2 separate regions of the Homo sapiens genome follow, and region 1 is linked to region 2. Evidence: promoter capture Hi-C in human tissues and cell types (Jung and others, 2019). All regions are on one chromosome and are shown on one strand. The core of a region is centred on a gene start or on the middle of the fragment in contact, and the rest is flanking DNA. Distances in the headings are between cores, read along the strand shown. Region 1 overlaps LOC90246 (a long non-coding RNA gene). Region 2 holds the start of EEFSEC (eukaryotic elongation factor, selenocysteine-tRNA specific).

Region 1 (3,214 bases), core at 602-3,101, 360 kb after region 2:
TGCACATGCTTCTTCCCATGCTCCCTCTGGGGGAGGTGTGCTAGGCAGCACAGATGTATGCACAGCTCCCCACAGATGCCACCCTCATCCTTGGAAACTGTCAATGCCCATGAATTTGTTACCTCACGTAGCAAAAGAGACTTTGCAGATGTAATTAAGGCTGCTCGTCAGTTGACCTTAAAATAGGGAGAGTGTCTTGGATCATCCACATGGGCTCAGTGGGTCACACAAGCCCTTAAAAGCAGAGAACTTTCCATGGCTGGTGGCAGAGGTAGAAAGGACATTGGAAAGAGACAGCATGGGGGAAAGGGAGATTTAAAGCTTGGGAAGGAAGGATGGAAAGCGCGACTGCTGCTTTGAAAACAAAGGAAGCCTCAGGCCACGTAGCAAAGAAATGGAGACCCCAGGCCTGCAATCATAAGCGACTGAATTCTGCTCACAACCCTAATGAGCACCTCCGGGAAAGAGCCCAGCCTGCCAACACCTCGATTTTGCCTTGTAAGCCCCTAAGCAGAAAATACAGTTGAGGCACTCTCTGCCCAGACTTGCAGTGCACAGAAACTGTGATGCTAAATGGATGTTGCTTGAAGCTGCTCAGTTGGTGGCACTTTGTTACAGCAGCAATGGAAAATGAATACTGGAGGTAACACTGTCTCTCCCAGTGACAGGTCCGGCTCCAGGAGCTGGACCCCAGTGACCGTGTTACAGTCTAGGCTTAAGGCCCCCCTCACTCCCAACCTCACCTGTGCAGAGAGGGAAGGAAAAGTGCCATGTCAACCCCCAGTAAGGGAAAGGAGGATGGGAGACCCCTAGCCTGCAGCACATCCAAAGCCCTGCTAGAAAAATACTGAGAAATGTTAGACATTGAGCTACCACAGGACCCAGGATTACAACTCCTGGGTATCTACCCAAGGCAAATGAAAACATGTGTCCCCAGAAAAATTTGCACACAATGTTCATAGCAGCATTATTTATAATAATTGAGAAATGGGAATAGCCCAAATGCCCATCAGCTAATGAATAGATAAACAAAATATGGCATAGCTATACAATGGAATATTATATGGCCCTAAAAAGTAATGAAGAAGCCAGACATAAAAGGCTTTGTGTGATTCCATTTCCAGACAGAAAGCAGATTAGTAGTTGCTGCAGGCTGGCGGGAGGGAGGAATGGAAAGTGGCTGCTAACAGGAACACGGTTTATTCTGGGGGCAATGAAAGTGTTCTAAACTTAGATGTGATGATGGATGTACAACTGCGTGAATATACTAAAAAGCATTGAATGGCATTGAATGGTTCATCTTAAATGGGTGAATTTTATAGTGCGTGAATTATATAGATAAAGATGTAAAAGATTTGTTTAACATCAATAAAGATGTAAAAAAAAAAATGTTGAGTTTCTTGGGCAGCCAGTTCAACTGCCCAGCCCTGCCCTCTAGGAGGAAAACGAGTACTCCCTGCCCACCCTTCACCATTCCCACATCTGAAGTGGGCATTGGGGATCTCAGTTCTCTAGTGGCCAGTTCCTAATGGTGCAGATTCTAGACTGCAGAGATTGCTTGGGCTTGGAAATAACATCACAGACTTTTTCAAAAAAATTTTTGTCTTGTTTTTGTGTTTTGTTTTGCTTTTTGTTTGCTTGTTTGTTTGTTTTTACCAGACTTGAAGTTTTGGGGCAGTACAACTCCATCAAAAAAATTTTGACCTCAAGTGATCTGCCCATTTCAGCCTCCCAAAGTGCTGGGATTACAGGCATGAACCACCGCACCCAGCCTCCATCAAAAATGTATTAGGCATTTCCCTGTCTTTATTTTTAAATATATATATATTGTAGTCTGGGCATGGTGGTTCACACCTGTAATCCTAGCACTTTGGGAGGCTGAAGAGGGAGGCTTGCTTGAGCCCAGGAGTTCAAGACCAGCCTGGGCAACATAGCAAGAGCTCTTCTCTACTAAAAATAAAAATTAAAAAAAATTAGCCAGGCTATGTGGTACATGCCTGTAGTCCTAGCTACTCAGGAGGCTGAGGCAGGAGGATTGCTTGAGCCCAAGAGTTCAAGATTGCAGTGAGCTATGAGTACACCACTGCACTCCAGTCTGGGCAACAGAGCCAAACACTGTCTCAAAAAAAAATTACATATATATATATATATATATATATATATATAGAGAGAGAGAGAGAGAGAGAGAGAGAGAGATGTGTGTGTATATACATATATATACTTCAGGCACACAAAAAATTAGATCGAATAATATAAAAAACACCTATATACCCAACACCTAGCTTATATATTAAGTATTAAAATGTCACCAATACAGTTGAAGCAGGAATACAGTTGAAATTGAAAATGTAGTTAAAATACAATTATAGTTGTAGTTGAAATGTACTACATGCTAGATAGAATGTACAACTTTCTTATGACTTTGGGGTGGGAGGTGATTTTCTGAGCATTGCACAGAAAGCAGAAGCTGTAAAAAGTGAATGCTTCCTTGGATTCCTTGGACTATATAAAAATTTCAACTTCTGCCTGGTGAAGATACTGTAAACAAGTTTAAAAGATAAACAAATAGATCGAGAGAATATTTGCAATGTATACAGTGAATCAATATCTACAATATGCAAAGTGTTCCCAAAAAAAATAAGAAAAAGAAAAAAAAACCAGTAGCAAAATAGGCAATTCACACAGGAAGAAATATAGTGGTCAATTAAGTTATGAAAAGTATGCCCTTATTCATAATCAAATAAATGAAAACTTAAAACAATGATGAGATACCATTTTTCAGTTAGCAGACTGGCAAAAAAAAAATTCATGCAAATAACAAGAGCAATAATATCCATCCAACGGCAAGCCTACAGGAAAGTAAGCATTCTTCTACACTATTGGCAGGAATATAAATTGAAGCAACCTTTTTGGGAGAGCAATTGCCTGGAATCTATGTTAATGTAAATTGTACATACCCACAATCACACCCTTAGTAATACAGTGTTCAGAAATACTAGCACTTAAGAAAATAAATGAAAAAACAATAAAAGCATTAGAAACATCTTTTTTTTTTTTTTTTTTTTTTGAGATGGAGTCTCACTCTGTCGCCCAGGCTGGAGTGCAGTGGTGCGATCTCGGCTCACTGCAACCTCCGCCTCCCAGGTTCATGCCATTCTCCTGCCTCAGCCTTCCGAGTAGCTGGGACTACAGGTACCCACCACCACGCCTGGCT
Region 2 (3,471 bases), core at 940-3,439:
CTATATCAAGTGATCTGCCTGCCTCAGCCTCCCAAAGTGCTGGGATTACAGGCATGAACCACCGTGCCCAGCCAAACCTTTTTTCTTTTCATTACCATTTCAGGATTCTGTTTAAAACAGAGGTAAGAAATGAGGTTTATTTGAAGCCAGGCCCTGTACAAAGTCTTTGTTAGTTGAAATATTTCTCAGAGGTACATAAAGCCTCTAAAGCTCTTATTACCTATTTACTAACCCTCCCTTTTAAATACGTTTACTGCTTTTACTACTAGATTTTTTTTAATGGGAGGCGTATTTTTACAGTTTCCTATTTGCAAGGTGGGAAAACGGAAACAAAGATTCTGTTCTCTTCTTGTAAGGACCCTAATCCCATCACAAGGGCCCGCTCTCATGATCTCATCTAACCTCCCAAACGTCCCATCTCCAAATACTATCACACTGGGGGTCAGGGTGTCCACATATGAATTTGAGAGGGACACAATTCAGTCTATGACATGGACTCTGTTCCTAGTGGAGAGTGGTGGAACGAAGGAGGCAGTTACTGCAAGCATGAATACATCCGCACATGGTCTGGCTCATCACAGAGGGCAAAGGTAAGATCCTGTGAACTTTGTGCTCCACCGCCACAGTGTTACAAAAACACTCTCTTCTCCAGAAAAATGGAAGGAGGAGGCAATGTTGGGCTAGCATTCCTGCCTGGTATCACTGGCTGAGACTGAGCAGTGGCTTCCCTCTTTGCACAGGAAAAGGGCTCTCCAGGTCTCCCAGGTCCCCACCACTCCCTGTCATCTTAGACTCTTTTAACTTCTCTTCTTTGATTTACCCACCACCTGGCCAGAGCAGACACTTAGGTTTGTTACCTCTGGTTGGTGACTATGGCTGACAACCTTTTTTGTGGTTCTAGACACTTCAGAATCTAGTGAGAGTTGTCGACCCTCTGTCTAGCAAGAGCACATCACAACACATTGTGCGTTCAATTTAGAGGTTTGTGGCCTCTCCTAAGCCCAGGCTACAGACTCTCAGGGTGAGAATTTCTGAGTCAGAGATAATGTTGTCCTCTTCCATCTTCAAACCATCTTTTCCCATGGTTGGCTCCTTCTCAACACTGGAGTTTCAACTCAAACAGCAACTCCTAGATGTCTTCCCTGACCCACAGTTAGGTAGCTGTCCATCCTCCCTCTCCTGCTCCTTTTTATCTCAGCTTTTATTTTCCCTAGGAGACTTCTCGCTCTCTGAAATGGTCTGGTTCAGGCTGTATTGTTTGACTTAGCCCTCACCCCCTGAATGTAATATTAGCGGGCACTGTAGCCCAGCGGAACCCACCAGGCACTTGGTAAGATCTTGCTGAAATGTATGAATGATTGGAAGTGTGTCCGGAGTTGGTTTCTTCCAGTGGGTTCCTAGTCTCGCTGACTTCAAGAATGGAGCCGCGGACCTTCGCAGTGAGTGTTAAAGCTCTTAAAGATGGCACAGTCCCAAAGAGTGAGCAGCAGCAAGATTTATTGTGAAGAGCAAAAAGCTTCTGCAATGCGAAAGGGCACCTGAGAGGGTTGCTGCTGCTGGCGGGGGTGGCCAGCTTTTATTCCCTTATTTGCCCCCTCCCCCACGTCCCCCCGCCCTCCCCCGCCCCCCGCCGTCCCCCCGCCCTCCCCCCCGCCCCCGTCTTCCCGCCCCCCCCGCCCCCGTCTTCCCCCCGCCCACCCCGCCCCCCCCGCCCCCCTTCGCCCCCCCATGTTCCGTTTTTGTCCTATCAGAGCGCCCTTTTTTCAATCCTCCCTGTGATTGGCTTCTTTTAGGATCCTGCTGATTGGTGCATGTTACAGAGCACTGATTGGTGCGTTTTACAGAGCGCTGATTGGTGCATTTTACAATCCTCTTGATAGCTATAGAAAAGTTCTCCAAGTCTCCACTCACCCAGAAAGTCCAAATGGCTTCACTTCTCAGAAGGATCCCTCCATCTCGGGCTCCTAGAGGCTTCAGGCAGGAGGAGCCACGTGAGAGAGAAACCCTGCCTACGGTGACCTCCAGTTCCTAGACCACCCACTCGGAGCACGGCGCTCGGCTGTGCCCGTGAGCCTCAGGAGGGCGGAAGCTTCCGGGCCGGAACGGGTGTGCACAGCGCGCCGGTTACGGGGGGGCAACTTAACGGGCCGGACCGCGGCGACTACCGAGGGAGGTGAGGGGCGGGCCGGGCGGGTGTCCGAGGCGGCGGCGGCGGCATGGCAGGGCGGCGGGTGAACGTGAACGTGGGCGTGCTGGGCCACATCGACAGCGGCAAGACGGCGCTGGCGCGGGCGCTAAGCACCACAGCCTCCACCGCCGCCTTTGACAAGCAGCCGCAGAGCCGCGAGCGCGGCATCACGCTCGATCTGGGCTTCTCGTGCTTCTCGGTGCCGCTGCCCGCGCGCCTGCGGTCGTCTTTGCCCGAGTTCCAGGCAGCGCCCGAGGCCGAGCCCGAGCCCGGCGAGCCACTGCTTCAGGTCACGCTGGTCGACTGCCCCGGGCACGCCTCCCTCATCCGGACCATCATCGGCGGTGAGCGCGGGCCGGGGCGGGAGCCGGGCTCAGGGACGCGGGCGGAGCGACCGGGCCCCGTGTCCGAATTCGCTCGAGCCTTTGCCGGGACGGGAAATCGCCCCACCTCATTGGTGGGGCTCCTGACGCCCCAAGAGGCGGACGTGACTTGCCTAGGGCTCCGCAGCAAGTGAGCGGAGGCTTTGAGATTCAGCTTTTCCCATCCAGCAGAACCGAGCTGCAAGGCGCCTTCCTTAAAAAAAAAAAAAAAAAAAAATCAAAAAATCCCTACCAAATGTGTTTATAATACATGGTCAAGTAAAGAAAACTCAAAATAAGAAAACTCACAAGCTACAAAAAGGGTATACATACAAAGGCTGTCTTCATTCACCTGTCATTTGGTCTGATTCCCGTTCCTAGAGCCAACCGCTGCTACCAGTTTTTGTATATCATTTCAGAAAGGCTCCACGTCAATACAAGCATATCTGTGTGTATGTATAAATCCCTCTTTCCCTCATCCTTTTAGACACGATTTCACTCAACATTGTGTCTGGAGAGTGCCCCATATCTGTACACAAAGCTACATCATTCTTTTTAAAGCTCACATAGAATTCAACTGCACCCTTGTACCAACATTTTCTTTTTCTTTTTTTTTTTTTCTTTTTGAGACAGAGTCTTGTTCTGTCGCCCAGCCTGGAGTGCAGTGGCACGATCTCGGCTCACTGCAACTTCCGCCTCCTGGGTTCAAGCGATTGTCCTGCCTCAGTCTCCTGAGTAGCTGGGATTACAGGCGCGCGCCACCACGCCCGGCTAATTTTTTTGTATTTTCAGTAGAGACGGGTTTCACCATGTTGGTCAGGCTGGTCTCAAACTCCTGACTTCATGACCCGCCCGCCCTGGCCTCCCAAAGTCCTGGGATTACAGGCGTGAGCCACCACGTCCGGCCTGTACCAACATTTT

What was found. The method cuts DNA at HindIII sites, captures the fragments that hold promoters and counts their contacts. A contact is called where the count stands out against the background at its distance.
Region 1: a fragment that was not itself captured here is called in contact with the fragment with the promoter of EEFSEC in region 2 in 1 of the 25 tissues and cell types used here (mesenchymal stem cells).

Annotation. Positions count from the first base shown.
Region 1 is chr3:128,509,207-128,512,420 of GRCh38, forward strand. It overlaps LOC90246 (a long non-coding RNA gene), which reads left to right. Exons shown (of 1, transcript NR_026954.1): 1 at 1-1,389. Among named protein-coding and RNA genes, the nearest start is that of GATA2, 18 kb to the left of the region's middle. The HindIII fragment of the contact is 6,617 bases long and covers 1-3,214 here.
Region 2 is chr3:128,151,292-128,154,762 of GRCh38, forward strand. EEFSEC (eukaryotic elongation factor, selenocysteine-tRNA specific) reads left to right here and starts at 2,190. Exons shown (of 7, transcript NM_021937.5): 1 at 2,190-2,532. The coding sequence starts at 2,217. It also overlaps a transcript of RUVBL1 not described here. RefSeq lists an enhancer at 1,821-2,050 and a silencer at 2,181-2,700. The HindIII fragment of the contact is 4,118 bases long and covers 1,803-3,471 here.